Linked DNA regions of Homo sapiens: regions 2, 3, 4, 5 and 6 are each linked to region 1. Evidence: promoter capture Hi-C in 16 types of primary human blood cells and fetal thymus (Javierre and others, 2016). All regions are on one chromosome and are shown on one strand. Each heading gives the region's core, a stretch centred on a gene start or on the middle of the fragment in contact. The rest is flanking DNA. Distances are from core to core; before and after follow the strand shown. Region 1 holds the start of ASH2L (ASH2 like, histone lysine methyltransferase complex subunit). Region 2 overlaps ERLIN2 (ER lipid raft associated 2). Region 3 overlaps LOC124901934 (a long non-coding RNA gene). Region 4 overlaps PLPBP (pyridoxal phosphate binding protein). Region 5 overlaps FGFR1 (fibroblast growth factor receptor 1). Region 6 overlaps NSD3 (nuclear receptor binding SET domain protein 3).

The links. Contacts are between HindIII fragments. The CHiCAGO score rates a contact against its expected background, and 5 or more counts as called.
Region 2: a contact is called between a fragment that was not itself captured here and the fragment with the promoter of ASH2L in region 1, in 1 of 17 cell types (neutrophils). The highest score is 6.7, in neutrophils.
Region 3: a fragment that was not itself captured here is called in contact with the fragment with the promoter of ASH2L in region 1 in 3 of 17 cell types (neutrophils, total CD8 T cells and naive CD4 T cells); the score reaches 8.6 in neutrophils.
Region 4: a contact is called between a fragment that was not itself captured here and the fragment with the promoter of ASH2L in region 1, in 3 of 17 cell types (neutrophils, erythroblasts and fetal thymus). The highest score is 8.1, in neutrophils.
Region 5: a fragment that was not itself captured here is called in contact with the fragment with the promoter of ASH2L in region 1 in 1 of 17 cell types (naive CD8 T cells); the score reaches 7.7 in naive CD8 T cells.
Region 6: a fragment that was not itself captured here is called in contact with the fragment with the promoter of ASH2L in region 1 in 1 of 17 cell types (erythroblasts); the score reaches 5.2 in erythroblasts.

What each region holds. Positions count from the first base shown.
Region 1 is chr8:38,103,985-38,107,285 of GRCh38, forward strand. It overlaps ASH2L (ASH2 like, histone lysine methyltransferase complex subunit), which reads left to right and starts at 1,545. Exons shown (of 16, transcript NM_004674.5): 1 at 1,545-1,754; 2 at 2,394-2,460; 3 at 3,037-3,182. The coding sequence starts at 1,567. RefSeq lists silencers at 1,313-1,402, 1,733-1,932 and an enhancer at 1,513-1,642. The HindIII fragment of the contact is 22,171 bases long and covers 1-3,301 here.
Region 2 is chr8:37,742,473-37,745,773 of GRCh38, forward strand. ERLIN2 (ER lipid raft associated 2) reads left to right here. Exons shown (of 12, transcript NM_007175.8): 5 at 1,883-1,944; 6 at 2,099-2,224. Among named protein-coding and RNA genes, the nearest start is that of ERLIN2, 7.5 kb to the left of the region's middle. The HindIII fragment of the contact is 4,955 bases long and covers 1-3,301 here.
Region 3 is chr8:37,759,037-37,762,337 of GRCh38, forward strand. It overlaps LOC124901934 (a long non-coding RNA gene), which reads right to left. Exons shown (of 2, transcript XR_007060889.1): 2 at 1-3,301. Among named protein-coding and RNA genes, the nearest start is that of PLPBP, 2.0 kb to the right of the region's middle. RefSeq lists an enhancer at 3,158-3,237 and a silencer at 3,297-3,301. The HindIII fragment of the contact is 2,312 bases long and covers 680-2,991 here.
Region 4 is chr8:37,778,631-37,781,931 of GRCh38, forward strand. It overlaps PLPBP (pyridoxal phosphate binding protein), which reads left to right. Exons shown (of 8, transcript NM_007198.4): 8 at 1-1,138. Among named protein-coding and RNA genes, the nearest start is that of ADGRA2, 17 kb to the right of the region's middle. RefSeq lists enhancers at 1,859-2,359, 2,300-3,301. The HindIII fragment of the contact is 3,237 bases long and covers 1-2,869 here.
Region 5 is chr8:38,414,786-38,418,086 of GRCh38, forward strand. FGFR1 (fibroblast growth factor receptor 1) reads right to left here. Exons shown (of 18, transcript NM_023110.3): 11 at 3,085-3,206; 12 at 2,521-2,631; 13 at 1,085-1,275; 14 at 1-116. Among named protein-coding and RNA genes, the nearest start is that of LETM2, 30 kb to the left of the region's middle. RefSeq lists enhancers at 593-1,363, 1,804-2,469. The HindIII fragment of the contact is 8,773 bases long and covers 1-3,301 here.
Region 6 is chr8:38,366,199-38,369,499 of GRCh38, forward strand. The region is part of intron 1 of NSD3 (nuclear receptor binding SET domain protein 3); the gene reads right to left. Among named protein-coding and RNA genes, the nearest start is that of NSD3, 14 kb to the right of the region's middle. The HindIII fragment of the contact is 1,665 bases long and covers 792-2,456 here.

The DNA of each region.
Region 1 (3,301 bases), core at 295-2,794:
TGCAGTGAGCTGAGATCGCGCTACTGCACTCAGCCTGGGCGACAAACCGAGACTCCGTTTCAAAAAAAAAAAAAAAAAGCCGTGCGCGGTGGCTCACACCTGTAATCCCAGCACTTTGGGAGGCCCAGGTGGGTGGATCACTTGAGGTCAGGAGATCGACACCAGCCTGGCCAACATGGTGAAACCCCGCCTCTACTAACAAAAATTAGCCGGGCGTGGTGACAGATACCTGTAATCTCAGCTACTCGGGAGGCTGAGGTAGGAGAATCGCTTGAACCTGGGGTGGAGGTTGCAGTGAGCCGTGATCGGGCCACTGCGCTCCAGCCTGGGCGACAGAGCGAGACTCTGTCTCAAACAAACAACAACAAGAAAACACAAAATTCTGCGACCATATGTTAAAACTGCTACAATACTACGTATTTGGGAGGAGATACTTAGATCAAGCATCCTGCTTCTCTTTGGAGTACCAACCCCTGATTTAAGTATTTATCATCAATTTTAAAAATGTAACCTGGCAACTCAGTTAGGTCTTTCTTCAATTTTGTTGAAAACCAATAATTGAGAACCAATTGGGAAATCAATATCTACGTATTTCCCATGGCGTCCAGTGGCCCAGAGATTCCTACACTATCGGTGGACACATCACAGTAAGATTAGACTGAGGATTGGCGAGGGGTGCGCCGTTCTTGTGTAAAGCGGGAGAAGAGTGTATTATCGTTAGGCAACATTTTAGGATATAGGATAAACACTGGTGTCCTGAAAACGTTCCTGGCCGCAACACTCTCAGAGGTTTGCATTCTCGAGTTTGGAGACCATGGCTCTGAAAGACTCAACTCACTCCACTGATGCCAGCCACCAGCTACTGTTGATGACTTCCCAAGTTCGTACTTTCAGTCCACACCTCTTCCTTTCGCTGGGCACCAAACTTGTCTACATTCCGAGTGCCCCGGCACACCCCGGGGCTTCGCTTTCCGCCTCTCACAGTAGGAAGCGGCGAGCCGCTTCTAGTGCCCACGCCGCTCCTCGGCTGCCCGGCCTGGGTTTTCCACCCTCGCCCCTGGAATCGGCCTCCCTAGATTCCCTTCCCTCTTAAAATCATTTGGAAACGGGCTCCAAGGGGCGACCCTGCGCAGAAAACCAAATTCCATCCGGGGCGGGCAGGGAGTGCTAGACTCCAAGGAAGACGTTTCCCACATTCGGTGGTGAGGAGTGTTTGGCGGCACGGCACGGCCAGCGCTCTCAAGGACCCTCTTCTGCGCAGAATATCCAGTCGTAGCCACGAAAATACGCCGCGTCAGTCCCTGACTCGAAAGGAAGTCCTCCAGAGAGCCGCACTAACCATCTAGCTTCCTCCACCTTCAGCCTGCCAGGCCCGCGGCCACCGCCGGCGCGGGAGGCCGGCCCACCTCTGCCCGCGCGCCTGGCCTTAAAGCGGTCGTGGAATTATGCTTCCTCAGGCAGGCGGTGGACGCACCGCGGGCTTTTTCTGTTTGAAGACTACAGCGTCACACAGCAACGCGCGCGAGAGAAGAGAGTATTCTCGCGAGAAGTCCAGGGGTGGCCGTGATGGCGGCGGCAGGAGCAGGACCTGGCCAGGAAGCGGGTGCCGGGCCTGGCCCAGGAGCGGTCGCAAATGCAACAGGGGCAGAAGAGGGGGAGATGAAGCCGGTGGCAGCGGGAGCAGCCGCTCCTCCTGGAGAGGGGATCTCTGCTGCTCCGACAGTTGAGCCCAGTTCCGGGGAGGCTGAAGGCGGGTAAGAGGTCCTGCCGCCCGAGGAAGACGCGGGAGGGAGGCCCGCCCCTCGCGAATCCCGCGGCTCCTGGAGCCCTGCCGCCCGCCCCCTGCGAACCCAGGCCCCGCCGCCAATGGCTCGCCCTGCCTCTGCGCCGCTTGGCCCGTCCCCTCTCAAGCATATCTCGGATAACGCCCCTTCCGCACCTTTCACGGGCGGTGGGAGCTGAGGCTCCTGTCGTTATCTCTGATCCTTGCACCCTGGCAGGAAGCTGGTAGCTCACACTTTAACGGGAGGCCTTCACATATTCCAGAAAAGAAACCACTTTGCAGTGCCAGACTGGAAGAAGTAACGGTCACTCTGAAAACAGGGTGGGAGAGCTGCCTCTCTTTGAACCTCTCCCAGGACCAACTCTAACCCAGGTAGATTTGACTGTAAAGGCCGGTTAGGCTTCCCTGTGCTCCGTGGGTCCGCGACTGTCTGACATGTCCACCTTCTCAGTATCCTGACAGTACCTTGGGCATCCAGTCTGAGATCAGGCTTAGCTGAAAAAGCTGCAGGAGTATGAAGTTCGGCTGTAATTTGATCATCATTTTTGGGAATAGGCATTTTGAGGTTTGTCTTGAGAATTCTTACTTGAGCGCTTTCATTATCTTATAGGGAGGCAAACTTGGTCGATGTAAGCGGTGGCTTGGAGACAGAATCATCTAATGGAAAAGATACACTAGTAAGTATTTTTAGTTGTTTGCAAGACAAAATAGGGTTTGTTTTAGTTATTTCTTCTTCTTCTTTTTTTTTTTTTTTTGTTGCGACGGAGCCTTGCTCTGTCGCCCAGGCTGGAATGCAGTGGCGCGATCTCGGCTCACTGCAACCTCCTCCCCCCGGGTTCCAGCGATTCTCCTGCCTCAGCCTCCCGAGTATCTGGGATTACAGGCATCTGCCAACACACCTGGCTTCTTTTTTTTGTCTTTTTAGTAGAGACGGGGTTTCACCATGTTGGCCAGGCTGGTCTCGAACTCCTAACCTCAGTTGATTCTCCCGCCTCAGCCTCCCAGAGTGTTGGGATTACAGGCGTGAGCCACCGCGCCCGGCCTTGTTTTTACATTTTTAAGCGAATCAAAAATACATTCAGGCCAGGCACGGTGGCTCATGCCTGTAATCCCAGCACTTTGGGAGGCTGAGACCTCAGGATCACTTGAGACCAGCCTGGGCAACATAGGGAGACCCCCGTCTCTTAAAAAAATAAAATAAAGTAAAATACATTCAAGTCAACTGATTTGAGTCTCGAACTGCTCTGACACAGGAAGGTGCTGGGGATACATCAGAGGTGATGGATACTCAGGCGGGCTCCGTGGATGAAGAGAATGGCCGACAGTTGGGTGAGGTAGAGCTGCAATGTGGGATTTGTACAAAATGGTTCACGGCTGACACATTTGGCATAGATACCTCGTGAGTACTTTTCATAGTTTTTGTGAGAATTGCTCGGTAAAATAAATCTGAACATGCTCAACAGTTACTTTGTGGGCAAAATAAATGCAAAGTATTTCCTATGTCTCCTAACCCCTATT
Region 2 (3,301 bases), core at 592-3,091, 360 kb before region 1:
ATAAAAAGGAACAAGATCATGTCCTTTGCACGGGACATGGATGGAGCTGGAAGCCATTATCCTCAGCAAACTAATGCAGGAACAGAAAACCAAACACCACATGTTCTCACTTATAAGTGGGAACTGAATGATGAGAACACATGGACACATGGAGGGGAACAACACACACTGGGGCCTGTCAGTGGATAGGGGGTGGGGAGAGGGAGAGCATCAGGAAGAATAGCTAATAGATGCTGAGCTTAATACTTGGGTGATGGGATGATCTGAGCAGCAAACCACCATGGCACACGTTTACCTATGTAACAAACCTGCACATCCTGCACATGTACCTCTGAATTTAAACAATGGAAAATAAAATAAAATTTTAACGTTAAAAACAAAAAAAGAAGTGAGGATGCACAAAGGTTTTTAGCAGATAAATGACCTGATACAAGAAGATAACTTGCATAACTAAAGAGAATGTCATAAAGGTAGGGGAGACCTTCAGGGCAAAGAGATCCGAAGAGAACACTGCTACAGCGGTCCCACTGGAAAGCAAAGACAGTTTAAACTGGGATAGAGTGACAAAGAATACCACAAAGAAACACTCTGACAAATCCGGAATTGGAACATCCCACAAGATCGCAGGCCTGATCTCTTCACAAAGTGGTTGTATTTAGAGGGATGCTGGATTGGACAGAGACTTACAAGAAACATAAACAGAAGCAAGGGTGAGCATTGATTAGAACCTGGTTCAAAATTAACAGCTATAACAGATACGACAGAAACTATATGAGTCCACTCAGGCTGCCATGACAGAGGACTACACACCAAGGGACTAAAATAATAGATATTTTCTCACCATTCTGAAGGCCCAAAGTCCAAGATCCGGGTAACAGCAGGGGTAGTTTTGGTGAGACCTCTCTTTCTGGCTTGCAGGTGACCACCTTTTTGTCACATCCTCACAAGGCCTTTCCTCTGTATGTGCAAGAAGAGAGAAAAAGGTCTTTGGTGGATACCAGACCTTTTGGATTACAGCCCACCCTTATGACCTGTTTAACCTTAATTACCTTCTTAAAGGTCTAATCTCCAAATACAGTCACATTGGGGGTTAGGGCTTCAACATATGAATCTGGGGGCGAGGCATACACAGGTCAGTCCATAACACAAACTGTTGGGGAAATCTGAATAAGGACTGGGTATTAGGTGATATTACAGAATTATTGCTAATTTTCTTAGGCTTGGGAATGATACCATGAGTGTGTAGGAGAATGATTATTCTTAAGACAGTGCTCACCAAAGTAAAGGAGTAAAGTATCCTAACTGCAGCTTACTTTGAAATGTTCAGAAAAAAAAAAGGTCAATAAATAAGGTAAAATGTTATCAGTGTTGAATTCAGGTATCTGGATATGGATGTTAGTTATACTACTCTTTCGGCTTCTCTATGTTTGAAATCTTTTTATAATAAATATTTGAGGGCAAAGGGAGTGTGACACCAAAGTAATAGTGAAGACAGTTTAAGAAACATTGATCATAACATTCCACAGTAACCTTCTAAGTTCTGAAAACTTCACCTTGACCCTCCTTAGTCTTTTCCGTGCAACTGATTAATCAAAAGGCATTGCTGATTCCAAAGATATGAGTTACTCTTTCGTACTGGTCCCCAAAAGTCTCATTCATGTCTTTGTAGAGATGTTCCTAGGCAGTGTGATTTCTCAGGAGAGTATGTTGTTGCCATGAGCCCTGCAGAACCTCCCACTTGGAGATCCAAGCTGCCTTCCAACTTCCCGTGAACTCTTCTACTCCTTTTCTGCCAAGCCCCACATCTTACGCCATCACCCTGGGGGACTGCACCATATTCTAAGGCTTCCCAGTGACTTCTTGTCCATTCTCCCTCCAATAGTGGTGGTGTGATGATCTACTTTGACAGAATTGAAGTGGTGAACTTCCTGGTCCCGAACGCAGGTACGTCTTAACAGTTTATTCCCACCACCAGCTCACTTTCCCCAGCATGCCACTCCCGTGTCTGTTGTAGCACCTTGGAAAAGGAGAGCTGCCGTGTCTGAGGGCATTTTGAGTCTTGCCTTTTCTTATGCCAAGCCCTCTCCTTCCCTCTCAGTGTATGATATAGTGAAGAACTATACTGCTGACTATGACAAGGCCCTCATCTTCAACAAGATCCACCACGAACTGAACCAGTTCTGCAGTGTGCACACGCTTCAAGAGGTCTACATTGAGCTGTTTGGTAAGAAAGTCTCTCCTGAGCATGCCGTGCTTAAGCAGGGTTCCTGGAACCCCGCGTCTCTCCACTGCCTAAAGCCTGGCTGCCTGCAGGGTGTGATGGTCACTTATGGACAGGAAATGTTAAAGAATCTTGTGCTCAGGAGCTGGTCACAAAGGAGTTCATGGAGAATGCTGATAGCTATGCAACAAGATCCTTAGAGGGCTGGAGCTTTGGGCACAGGGACCATAGTGGAGTAGAGTATTCACTTCTGGCCTCAATCAGAGGCTGGAGTGGAAATGTGTTCCCACTGTTCCTAAACTATCATTCTATAATGAAGACAAGGTCCATTCTAGAAGAACCTTAGAGATTGTCCAGACCAGCATCCTCATTTTAAGCTGAGGGTACTGTGACCCAAAGCAAGAAAGTCACAGAGCCAGATGCCAATTAGTAGTGGGGCTGAAACAGGAGCCTTCCTCTCCTGGCTCTTCAGCATTCTTCTCACCATGCAACACTGAATGGAGGGCCCCCAGGAATGGGTGATGAAAAAGACATGATTCATAGTTAATTCTAGAAGTGAGATGAGAACCATAGCTCCTTCCAGTTCTCAGAACCTTTGTGATTATTATTTTTTTACTCTGTACCTGTAGCAACGAATAGAAAAACACTTTAAACAAAAAGATTCCACGTGCCTAAGTAGATATGTTTTGTCCTTTTTACCTTTTTCAAAGTAAAGGCAACCTGACTTAGCAGCAAAGGAAGGACACAGTTGGGTAACTGTTATAACTTGTTTGCAGTCAAGTATTCTGTTTAAACTCACTGCCAGAAATTCTCTAATAGCCAATGCCAAAAGTAAATGAATTTTTAACCAATAGTATAACTGTTCTTGACACTAGGACTGGAAAATGATTTTTCCCAGGAATCTTCATAAAAGGGACCCTGAGCAAGAACATTTTTCATAGCAGACAGGAGGACTCATCCACATCGCCAGCAATCATAATTAAGCAAACCGCCTTTTGCACCATTTAAGATTTAGGAAATCATCCAAATTACTTTTAATGTTTCTGCAGTAGAAAATGAATCTAAATTCATTTTATAGGG
Region 3 (3,301 bases), core at 586-3,085, 340 kb before region 1:
GGTCTCCAATTTTAAAAATGAAAAAAATTTGAAGAAGCTAGAAAGAAAATGTTAAAACCAAAAAGAAAAAAAAAGTAATTAAGAAATAAAGCTCATAGGTTGATGCCAGAAAAGGCAGAAGGGACATTTAATGACTTCACGATTATAAAAGTTACATACTGGTAGCTAAAAAGAGGAAATTCACTTGAATAAAGGAGGATTTGTAAAGAATTTACTTAAGATCAGGCTTGCTAAATTTTCAAATGGGGAGGAGTAGTTACTTGCAAATAGAAAATAAATATTCTTCTCTGATGGTCTTCAGAAATTGTGAAGACTCTGTGCTGTTTGGGATGGTTTAAATGTCATTCTTTCTGTATGAAACCTCCCTAAGTCTTCCCTAGGTCTAGGGTTCTACTATCTCTATAGACATTTCAAAGGCCAGATGTGATGGCATGTGTGCCAAGGGCTTGCTGTCATGGGCTACTCTACCTGAATTCATTTAAACTGGGATGGGACATGGGCATTATTTCTCCGTTTCTCTTTAGAGCTAAGTAACCAGGCAACAGTAATTTTCTATTTTACTTTTTACTTTTTTATCCCCCTAAAAGACTCACAGTAGGCTCAGAAGGAAACAATTTTTAAATCCATATATGTTTTTCTCATAATTTGGATTTATTCCAGACTATGAGGGTGTTTTAAAAGCTTGATGGCATTGATGGTGAATAAGTATACTAGATTTTAGATTATTTATAAAATCTGTTTCTCTGGGCATTTGGCTTTTTAATCTTTCTCTTTTCCCCTTGGTCCTTGCAAATTATTGGAGCAATTTAAAGACAATTACTGGTGATGAAATGATTTTGGACTTGTATTTTTCAAGGATTAGGTAGTAGGGGAGGATGAAAGGTTAAATTGGATGGTTGATGTCCCAGGAAGAGGAAGAGAAGAAATTAAAAAAGCAAATAAGGAAAAAAAGGGACAAAGTGAAATAAAATTAATTCAAAAGTACAACTAAGAAGAAATTGGAATGTGAAATGACCATGGGACTGGGGGCACCATGATCTTTTTGTCTCCATTTCCATTTTCATAAGACCACAGAATGTCAGAGATGAAAAGCGAGCATATTGGAAGTAAATCGGCAGTAAAGCCTGTCTTACTCAGCCTGGTCTCTCTCAGGGTTCTTTACAGAGTAACGCCTCAGTAAATGTTCACTGAATGGATAAGGGGGTGGGAGGATGACCTTGCCTTGTAGTTCAAAGAATAGAGGTCCCTGGCTGGGCACGGTGGCCCACGACTGTAATCCCAGCACTTTGGGAGGCCGAGGCGGGTGGATCACAAGGTCAGGAGTTCGAGACCAACCTGGCTAACATAGTGAAACCCCATCTGTACTAAAAATACAAAAATTAGGCGGGCGTGGTGATGCACGCCTGTAGTCCCAGCTACTCGGGAGGCTCAGGCAGGAGAATCACTTGCACCCAGGAGGCAGAGGTTGCAGTGAGCCGAGATCGCGTCACTGCACTCCAGCTTGAGTGACAGAGCAAGACTTCGTCTCAAAAAACACAAAAAAGAATAGAGGCCCAATCTAGTAAATGAAGCTACAACTACTTGTTGTCATAGTGACGTAACACCTGGATTATACATTCCCTAGATCTGTGAGGTATTTATGGTTTTAAAATGTTTTCCAAATAGCACATTATTTGAAGTGTTTCATCTCACCCAATCCTTCCTCTACACATCCCATCACCATGATCCCCTCTGTCCTCCCCATCACTCACTGCTGGCTCGCTCCTTCCCACCTGTGTCTCTACAGCAAGCATCTATTATGCTCACACCACAAAGGGCCATTCTGGTCATTTTAAATTTTTTTATCATTTTGGTTGGAGTACAGATGTATCAAGTCTAGAGACATTTTATCTGAACACAATTACTCCTAATGTTGGCAGTCCTAGTTTGCAGATAACCCAGTTAATGTGTACCAGGGTAAATGACCAGAGACTTCCCAAAAAGAAGTCCCTTATTTTAAGGATCTGAGGTTCTGCCTAATGTGACTTTCCCAGAGCAGAAGATGTGAAATTCCATCTCTGTTCCTGGGAGTCTGGGGAAAAACTGTGAGAGGAGAGAGTAAGAATATTGCCCCTTCTTTCCGGAAAGCTCTAATAAACCCCATCACCTCAAGACAAGACCACCTGAAGAACAAACATTAGCCATTTCTCTAATATAATAGCATCCCACTTCATTAAGTTGAATTAATGTTTGAGAAACTTTCAACAGAAATTGCAGCCAAGAGTGCTTTCCTTAACAAAATTGATCTCCTTCTCCTTGCCCGTAGCACCTACTATTTCACCACCTGACTATGTAGCATTCTGTATTATTATTTGTATGGCCTGGCTCCTCATCAAGTTTATAACCATATTGCCCACAGAAGGGGACTCAAGAATCAAACTCAGGGCGTTGTGGTGCCCGTTTGTAGTCCCAGCTATTCTGTGAGGCGGAGGTGGGAGGATTGCTTGGGCCCACGAGTCCCAGATAATCTGGGCAACATAGCGAGACCCCATCTCAAAAAAAGAATCTAACTGAATGTGCTGAGCTCCTGCTAGACCATCTAAAGCTGCCTGTGGGCTGGGCGCGGTGGCTCGCACCTGTAGTCCCAGCTACTGGGGAGGCTGAGGCAGGAGAATCGCTTGAACCCGGGAGGTGGAGGTTGCAGTGAGCCCAGATCGGGCCACCGCACTCCAGCCTGGGTGACAGAGCGAGACTGTCTCAATAATAATAATAGTAATAATCATGCTGCCTGTGTCCCCTGATGAGACAGCACTGGCCGCAGGTGGCCGCTAACCTCTCGAAATAGGGATGGCCCGAATTGAGACATATGCAAGTCAACACTACACCGGGTTTCAGAAACACATACGATTTTCAAAAGAATTAAAATATCGCATTTAGTTTTTCTATTGATTGCATGTTGAAATCTTACTTTGGATATATTGGATTAAATAAAGTATATCATTAAAATTTTTAAGCTTATGTGCCTATGAGAAACTTCCAAATTACACAGTTGGATGGCGTTATATTTCTCTTGGACAGCAGTGGTCTGAAAGATGACAAAAATCACGATACGTTTGAATCACGCCATGTCTTTAGGGAAAAGAAGAAAGAAGAGTTTCCTTTCGTATCGCTTAGGGGTTCCTCGCAAGAACCATCTGACAGAGAAAAGCCCTGGCTCCCGCCCCAGTGGCTTCTAATTCTGGTCCCCGCGCCCAGAAAGCCGGGAACGGGCAAGCCTGGAAAGGCGTTTTGAAAGGAAACAGGATCCCCCGAGTATAGGATG
Region 4 (3,301 bases), core at 1-2,500, 330 kb before region 1:
TTCAGGAAATGGCTCAGGTTAATTCTCAAAACACAAATTGTTGCTGGCCAGGCATGGTGACTCATGCCTGTAATCCCAGCAATTTGGGAGACAGAGGCGGAAGGATCACCTGAGCCTAGGAGTTCAAGACCAGCCTCAGCAACAGCAGGAGCCCCACCCCCCGTCTCTACAAAAAAATTTAAAAATTAACTGGGCATGGTGGCTGAGGTGGAAGAATGGAAGAATCACTTGAGCCCAGGAGTTTGAGGCTGCAGTGAGCTATGATTGCACCACTGTACTCCTGCCTTAAAAAAAAAAAAAAAATCCCAATAGTCCATGAAGGCTTTGATCTCTTGGGAAGTTCTTCATAGATGCTGTCACATTTCTTAAAGCAACCTTTTAATATGCAGATAATACCCCCCAACTTTTTTAGAGACAGCCTGTCTCTTAAAAAAAAAATTAATTTGGTAGTGAGAGCTTGTGTCACTGCCACTCTGTTTTATCCCTGAAATTAAAGGATAACATAAGGAGGACTTGGGCCTTTCTGACATCATCCTGAAGAGACAGGACTTTGCGTTTTTCCTCTGGGACCTACAGTGATGAGAATTTAATGATTATCTCCTCCACTATAATCCTCTTTAGGGTGATTTTTTAAATCAAAACCCAGTGAATCTCATTACTCCTAAGAAACGAAAGATTCCTTCAAAGCCTTTTCAGGCACATGGTTTCAACAAAGCCTGGCTTTGACATTCCTTGTCCTGAGGAGCACTTTCCAGGCATAGTTACAGCTTCCCCACTGTATTTACAAGCCAGAATTGTGCAACTCTTCTGGATCATTAATAAAGTAGCAAGATCCTCAAAAAACCCAAAAACACCATTCTCTAATAGTCATGACAAATGGCTTCAGTATGGCTTGTTTTTTATTTTCCAGATGGCTTTTTCTCTTATTTTTTGAAGCCCCAGTCTTTGATTTTACAGGTAACTTTCAAAACATCATGATGCTGCCAAATGTACTTTTGTAAACTTAAACATTATGATTCCTGTATTATTTCAGTGAGAGCTACAGTGTGATATTTCAGAGTCTATTAAATAAAAATGTGAGTTTGAATTACACCATCTGTGCCAATTACAAAGCAATTAAAAGATTTATTTTTTATGATCTGGTGTAGTGACTGAATATAACAGGTGGGGGCATTGGAACCGACGGGAAGCAGCTATGCTGGTGCCTTGGCATTGTGCCAGCCTGGCTTTGGAGGAGGGCTTCCCTGGGGTCACAGACGCAGCCAAAGCTACACCATGGGTGAGAGGGATTCTGAACTTCTAAGGGCAAGAAAAAGGACATTTCAAGAATTACAAAAATAGTTACCCCTCACTGCAAGAGACTTTTGAATTGCCTCTAGATGGCGACATTGGCTAACCTGAGGGACAAGCACTGGCTCTCCACTGTCAGTAGTTTACCTTATGAGGGACTCCTGGTTACTCAGTCTGGTGGAGGCCAGAGAGGACATGACGCTCTCAAGTGATAGTGTGACTTGCAGAGCCTCAGGGGTTCGATACCAGCTAGCCTGGGCAACACGGTGAAATCTTGTCTGTACCAAAAATACCCCGCCCAAAAATTAGCTGGGCATGGTGGCACATGCCTGTGGACCCAGCTACTCCAGAGGCTGAGGTGGGAGGATCGCTTGAGCCTGGGAGGAAGAAGTCACGGTGAGCTGAGATCGCACCACTGCACTGCAGCTTGGGTGACAAGGTGAGACCCCATCTCAAAACAAAACAAAAACAGCGAATAAGGAGGAAAGCCAGGGAAGGCTCAATCAGATCTAGATAAGGGAAGGACACCAAAGTGTGTCTAGGGTGTCCCCAGCAGGATGGGATATTTTGCAGAGAGAAAATTGAGCCAGGTTGTGAGTTTGTCTTTCGTTACGCATGATGGGTGGCAGGTTGGGTTTCTTCCAGATTTTCATGAAAGCCAGTTCCTGGAGTTTGGACGGCTTGCTCTCCTGGATTGGGCCCACCTGTGCAGCCTCACAGTCTCTGAAGGCGCTGGGCCCTTGTCTGCCCTGAAGCCAGCCTCAGAAGGCTTGAGACGCCACAAAACCTCCCAATAGTCCATCAAGACTTTGATCTCTTGGGGAGCTCCTCACAGATTCTATCACAGTTCTTAAAGCAACCTCTTAATACTCAAATGGTACCCCCCACCTTTTGTTTAACATTGATGGCATATGCAGCACTATTCTCTATATTCTCTCATTTCACCATCACAACAGCTGGTAGACTTGTGTAGGCTGATAGGCAATGTCCCTTTGTGGACGGGGCACTGGGGCCCAGAGAAGGTTCCGTGTTCTCCTTGTCTGAGGTCAGAGTGAGTTGTGGCAGGACGAGAAATAAACTCAGGACTTGACTTTCTGGCCCAGAACATGGTCACTACTCCACACTGGTATCTTCTATCTCTACCTTTAATAATTGATAAGTGGCATATTCTTAGATGTGCAGCTTTCATTTAAACGAGCCTTATTACCATAAAATAAGTGTGTGTGTTTCTATTCCAGTGGAACAGCTGAGAATTGACGCATCTTAATGCAGAACAAACTTTGAAACCACAGGCAGTGGGGGTGAGAAGGAAGGAGAGCATTAAACCCAGCCATGAGTGGGATTGGCCTCCCCTCTCGTCATCCCATCTCCCTCCCAAGCTCATTCCTCATGATTCAAGCTAATCTCACAGGCTGCAGGGCCCAGAGTGTGCAACCCTGTGCCTTCCCCCTGAAGCTGGACCAGCAGTGAATTCTGTTCCCCAAGGCTAGACACACAGGAATGAGGTCAGACAGGACATTCTTAAAATCCAGGACATCTTCATCCTTCAGAAAAGAAGTGGTCGTGTGCATCCCACCAAAGCTTTGAAGGAGGAAGTACTCGCTTACCAATTCCTGAAGGGCTGCAGTAGGAGTGGAATGTCACCAGTGGTGCAAGGGGAAAGGATTTCTCTGGGAACTGTGACTGTCTTTACCATGAAATTAGTTGAATGCTATTACATCAGCCTCATGACTAAGGACAAAAGAATCCAGACTGTCTACCAAAATGTTTTACTAATCTGTCCTCCCCTCAAGGAACACATAGGTAAAGAAAAGGGCTTCCTTTTCCACCCAGTTTGCACCAACGTGTGTAAACTATGGCTCTGTGTGGTTAAGCAGCTACTTGCAAGGTAAGGGTCCTTAAACTTAAGTTCCTCTTCTATAATCACGTTGAAGCCTCAAGGGACCGCAGAGCTAACACTTTTTTTTTTCCTTTAAAGTGCAGCACAGAGCAGCTGAAACGGCACACAGTG
Region 5 (3,301 bases), core at 1-2,500, 310 kb after region 1:
GTCTTTTTATAGTAGTCGATGTGGTGAATGTCCCGTGCGAGGCCAAAGTCTGCTATCTTCATCACATTGTCCTCTGTCACCAGGACATTCCTGGCTGCCAGGTCTCGGTGTATGCACTGAGGAAGGAGGAAGGGAGAGCGGGAGGCGGGGAGGTGAGGGAGCTGGAAGGCTCTGGGCGGCCGCCACCCATGCAACTAGCCGACTTGTCTCATAGAACTTCTGCCACACTGCTCTGCCCCCCGAACCTTTGCTTTCCCTCTTCTAACATTCTCTGCCAGCTCCAGGCTTCTCATCACAGCAAGCGCTCCTCCCTTCCTTCCCCAAAGACTGGCCCCTTATGCCTCTGCTGCGTCTGCAGCGATGCATGCTCCTAGGTCCTGCCTCCCAGCACAGCAAGTCCACATGGGGCTGGGCTCAAACCAGGCCAGCCCTTACACACCAAACACTGCACTCAACACTCACAGACAGTTTCATTTTATCTTCATAACAATTCTACAACAGGTATTGTTATACTTTATTTTCTTTTGAGACAGGGCCTTGCTCTGTCGCCCCGGCTGGGGTGCAGTGGTGTGATCATGGCTCAGTGCAGCCTCAAACTCTTGGGCTCAAGCTAGCCTCCCACCTCAGCCTCCCGAGTAGCTGGGACTATCGGCACGCACTACCACACCCAGCTAATTTTTTAATTTTTTTTTTTTTTTTAAAGACGGGGTTTCAATATATTGCCCAACCTGGTCTCACACTCCTGAGCTCAAGCAATCCTCCCGCCTTGGCCACTGCACCCAGCTGATATTATTATTATTTTGTATTTGAAGAATTTTAAGATGCTAAGTAGCTGCCTGAGGCTACGCAGAAAGTGGCAGTGCACAGATCGGACCCTGCATCAGTCTGACCCCAAGGCCACCTGGCTACACTGGTGCTCCTGACTCTGCAGTTCCCAGAGAGCCTAAGACAACACACAGGGCACACAGGGCCAGTGCTCAGTGCATCCACAACGCCACCACAAGATGATAAGTCACAGGCTGGAAGACTAGGGGGGCTCTGTTCCCACCCTGGCATTACCCAGGGGAGCCTTCAGGTTCCACACCTTCTTGGAGGCCAGATACTCCATGCCTCGGGCCACCTGGTAGGCGCAGGACACCAGGTCCTTGGAGGAGAGCTGCTCCTCTGGGTTGTGGCTGGGGTTGTAGCAGTATTCCAGCCCTGGGGGCCTCCGGGCCTGCAGGTACTCCCGCAGGTTGCCCTTGGAGGCATACTCCACGATGACATACAAGGGACCTGCAGGCACAGGAGAAGAGGCCATGGGGCCAGCAGCAGGTGAGCAGGTTTGGCTTCACCTCAAAGAAACCCCACCCCCAGCAGCACACCCCGGCCAACCTCCCATCTCCTGCCTCCTCTTAGGGGACCTGGGAAATCCATTCTACTACCCAAAAAAAATCAGAGAAATAATTACTCCCAGCATAGTCCAGAAAATTCCCGAGCAACATTGGGGTAAGAGCCCCAGTTTGTCTGTTTATTTTGAGATGGAGTCTCACTCTGTTGCCCAGGCTGGAGTGCAGTGGCGCAATTTCGGCTCACTGCAACCTCTGCCTTCTGGATTCAAGTGATTCTCCTGCCTCAGCCTCCCAAGCAGCTGGGATTACAGGCATGAACAATGCCTGGCTAATTTTTTTTTTTTTTTTTTTTTTTTTTGAGATGGAGTTTTGCTCGTTGCCCAAGCTGGAGTGCAATGGCGCGATCTCGGCTAACCGCAACCTCCGCCTCCCGTGTTCAAACGATTCTCCTGCCACAGCCTCCCGAGTAGCTGGAATTACAGGCATGCGCCACCACGCCCGGCTACTTTTTGTATTTTTAGTAGAGATGGGGTTTCACCTGTTGGCCAGGCTGGTCTCCAACTCCTGACCTCAAGTGATCCACCCGCCTCACCCTCCCAAGGTGCTGGGATTACAGGCGTGAGCCACTGTGCCTGGCCTATTTATTTATTTTATTTTTGAGACAGCGGGAGTATCTCCCAAGCTGGAGTACAATGGCGTGATCTTGGCTCACTGCAACCTCCACCTCCCGGGTTCAAGCAAGTCTTATGCGTCAGCCTCCTGAGTAGCTGGGATTATAGGCATGCGTGACCATGCCTGGCTAACTTTTGTATTTTTTAGTAGAGATGGGGTTTCACCATTTTGACCAGACTGGTCTCGAACTCCTGATCTCAAGTGATCTTCCTGCCTCGGCCTCCCAAATTGCTGGGATTACAGGCATGAGCCACTGCACCCAGCCTGAGCGCTCTTAGACCATAATTACTCAGCTGCCTCTGTTAACACACCACGTGTGTGAATCTAGGTATCTGTATTCCTGAATGAACACCAATGAGCGGAGCCCAGATCCCGAGATAACACATTTTAAACCTCTGCCAAAGCAGCCTCTCTTAACCCCCTTCCCTAGCTGTGGCTGAGAGAGGCCTTGGGACTGATACCCCAGCTCAGATCTTCTCCCCGCTGGGCAGGGAAAGCCAGTCTGGCCGGCACCCACCATCCTGCGTGCAGGCCCCCAGCAGGTTGATGATATTCTTATGCTTCCCGATCATCTTCATCATCTCCATTTCTGAGATCAGGTCTGACAAGTCTTTCTCTGTTGCGTCCGCTTTAAAGAACACGTTGAGACTCATTTACTTGGGAAGGGAGGAGGGCAGGATAAAGGCTAAGGGAGTGGGGTATGTGTCGAGGGGCTGCTTTTCCCTGGGACTTGATTCTCTCCTCCCCACTTCATCCAAACTTGTTTTCTCTTCCCTCTCATGGGAGCCGTTGTTGCAATAGGTGGTAGTGAGTGGGCAGGGATGTGGTGAGGAAAGCCTGCAAGCGATGGATCCAGGATAAACACCTGACCACAGCCCAGGTTGACGCCAAGGAACAGAGTGACGTCATAGAACAATCTCAAGGTGCAGAACACCCCCTCCACTCCCAGGTAACCCCAAGCAGGCAGCGGAGCAGGTGTGGGCAGCAAAGGCACCAGAGAAGCTGTTCTGCTGGGCCCGAGGCCTGCTGTTTGCTTGGAATGGGACAAGATTTTCTTTGCAAGGACAGAAGCATCACTTACACTTCAACATCTTCACAGCCACTTTGGTCACACGGTTGGGTTTGTCCTTGTCCAGCCCGATAGCCTCTGCCAACACCACCTGCCCAAAGCAGCCCTCTCCCAGGGGTTTGCCTAAGACCAGTCTTTCGGGGGAAACAGAGAGTGGCATAAGTTGGGGCTGGTGAAGTTCAAACCTTGAGAGGCACCCCATCTCCACCTCTCTGTATTTCACCCAACT
Region 6 (3,301 bases), core at 374-2,873, 260 kb after region 1:
GTAATTGCACTGATTAAAAGACTTTTAAAATATTCCAGCTTTCAAACAACTATTACTGATAAGTTATAGTTATCTTTCTTTGCCATGAAGAATTTATTTACCATCTAACGTAGCAAACACACTGGAAAAATGAGATTTTAAACATCTAGCCCACAAAAACACACAAATATAGTAATCACAAGGCAAAGAATGTACAATTATGTTCACATCTACTTAATTCTTTTTTTTTTTTTTTTGAGATAGAGTCTCTGTCGTCGCCAGGCTGGAGTGCAATGGTATGATCTCAGCTCACTGCAACCTTTGCCTCCTGGGTTCAAGCAATTCTCTGCCTCAGCCTCGTGAGTAGCTGGGACTACAGGCGCCCGCCACCACACCTGGCTAATTTTTGAATTTTTAGTAGAGACGGGGTTTCACCATGTTGGCCAGGATGGTCTTGATCTCTTGACCTCATGATCTGCCCACCTCGGCCTCCCAAAGTGCTGGGATTACAGGTGTGAGCCAACGTGCCCAGCCTATATCTACTTAATTCTTTCCCTTCACTAAGAATAGCTAATTCTGGGCTAACCACACGTAGCTATTTAAATTTAAACAAGTTAAAATTAAATTACATTAAAAATTTAGTTCCTCAGTTACAATGGCCATATTTCAAGCATTCAACATCAACATGTGGCTAAGGTTACCATATTGGTCAGTGCAGATACAGAATATTTCTGTCATCATAGAAAATTCTATTAGACAGTGCTGATCTACATTATTTTTCAAATTTTACCTTAACAAAAACATCCTTTAAAAGCTTATATTAAATAAGAATTATAAATTTTTAAAGAAATCTGTTAATATTACTGTGATGCTAGAAAGAAGTCACATAAGAGGAAGTTCAGCAAATAGATCTCTATGCCAGAGTAAGACAAACTCATATACCTAGGGACAAGCAAAATGTCCACAGAGTAGAAGGATGTACTCTAACATTGGTCTTAGAGTCATAAGACTTGAATTTTAGTTCTGCTTCTACCCCTAACTTAGCTGCATAAATTCCGAGGACAGACAGTATCTTTGGGTTTTCATTTAACATCATAAGAAAGGTTGGATCAGGTGATCCACATATATAAAATGACCACGAAAAATGGGAAAATGAGCTGTGATTCCTCCTATTATCAATACATAAGTGTAGGGCTTGAGTTTTCATTCTGAAAAGAATATATATATATATGTGGTTAAAATACTAACTTTTGGCCAGGTGTGGTGGCTCATGCCTATAATCCCAGCACTTTGGGAGGCCGAGGCAGGCAGATCACTTGAGGTCAGCAGTTCAAGACAAGCCTGGCCAACATGGTGAAACCTTGTCTCTACCAAAAATACAAAAATTAGTTGGGTGTGGTGGTGCATGCCTGTGGTCCCAGCTACTAGGGAGGCTGAGGCAGGAGAATCACTTGAACCCGGGAGGTGGAGGTTGCGGTGAGCTGAGATTGTGCCACTGCACTCCAGCCTGGGTGACAGAGTGAGACTCTGTCTCAAAAAAATAAATAAATAAAAAACTAACTTTAAATCTCATCTATCACCTTAACATTATTTAAGATGACCATTATTTGTAATATCAAACAATTATATGAAATTCACAACCAATACAGTTAGTGACATAGATAGGATTTTAGGGAGTAAAATCAGCATGGCCACGATTCTCTTTACAAAATCCTAGTAAGGAATCAAGGTGTGTTAGAGAAGTTGTATGTTTTCTCTTAACTTTTTTTAAACTTTTCTGAGTTTAAACTATTAATAAAGCAAAATATCTTTTTTTTTTGAGACAGAGATTTGCTCTTGTTGCCCAGGTTGGAGTGCCCTGGCACAATCTCGGCTCACTGCAACCTCTGCCTCCAGGGTTCAAGTGATTCTCCTGCCTCAGCTTCCCAAGTAGCTGGGATTACAGGCATGCACCATCACACCCAGCTAAAGGGGGTTACACCATGTTAGTCAGGCCGGTCTCGAACTCCTGACCTCAGGTGATCCACTCGCCTTGGCCTCCCAAAGTGTTGGGATTACAGGTGTGAGCCACTGCACCAGGCAGCAAATTATCTGTAAAGAATAACTGTGCTACTCCATAATCTGTTTAACTTTAGCGTTGTCACCTCAAATATTTTCTGAAATGTGTTCACTTTAAATTTTCCACTAAAAATTTAGAGAAAGATGTTTAGAGAAGGATGATGATTAAAGACATTAAAATATCCTGAATTAGGAAGTAACCTGCGTGAAGTAGAACTTAGTTAACAAAATACAAAAAAGAAAACAACAACAACAAAAAAGTGTTTCATTTAACCATAAATCCTGTCACTAAATTCAATCATACAGTTTTCACTTGACTATGATTCCATTAAGTTATACAACATTTTAGGTGGCTTTGTAGTTCATATTTTTTTCCTGACTAAACCACATTACTATTGAACTGCCTTTTACCAATACAAAGCTTACTAGTAAAACACCCTGTTTCCCTTATCTATCTAGTTTAACCTCAACTGTCTTCGCTTTGTTGCTGACCACACCCAGCAACAACAGACATGGTATTACCACTTGAAGGAAATTACATTATTTTCCAATCCTTTACAGCAAGGGTAGTTGCTCACAATGAAAATTACTACAAACAACTTTCATCAGTCATCTTGTTCCATTCACTATGAAATCTAGTAAACTAACAAGTTCATCCACATATTTTCTTACCTATTTCCTGGACAAACTTTTAAATTATGGTAAAATGGTTTGAGATTGGTTCTTAAAATTTTGCAAGCATTCAAATTTACTTTCTTTTAGCTTGTATCCTCCATTCCCCCAAAAAAGGCAAAAGAGAATGTATGCCAAAGATGATATGTAGTTTTTAAGGCACTAAGCAATTTATTATATCTAAATAATAATTTACTAAGTTTATCTTTTCTATAAAGACCAGTTTGGGTTTTGTTTTTTTTGTTTATCGCTTTAGTATTTTAGGTTCAACATGTAGTATTTTAGTATTCAACATGTAGTTTTCAAAATAAGTAATAAAAGTTAGAAAATTCAGAATTTCATACTATATATCCAAATTTCACATCACCTGTTTGTTTAATCAGAACACCAAGCTTTAGTGAAGCTTTAGCCATCATGAGTTGTAATAAAACAGTGGAAGTAAAATTGGACTGGAAAGTTAACTTCATGTTCAAACTTGAACCAGCATGAATTCTCTCAACAATTAAGAAAAACTCATATAACCTAGGCAAAGATTCTCTTCAGGTATTAGTTGATGTTCAACTTTTAACTTCTATGAAAGTGAGTTTAGCCA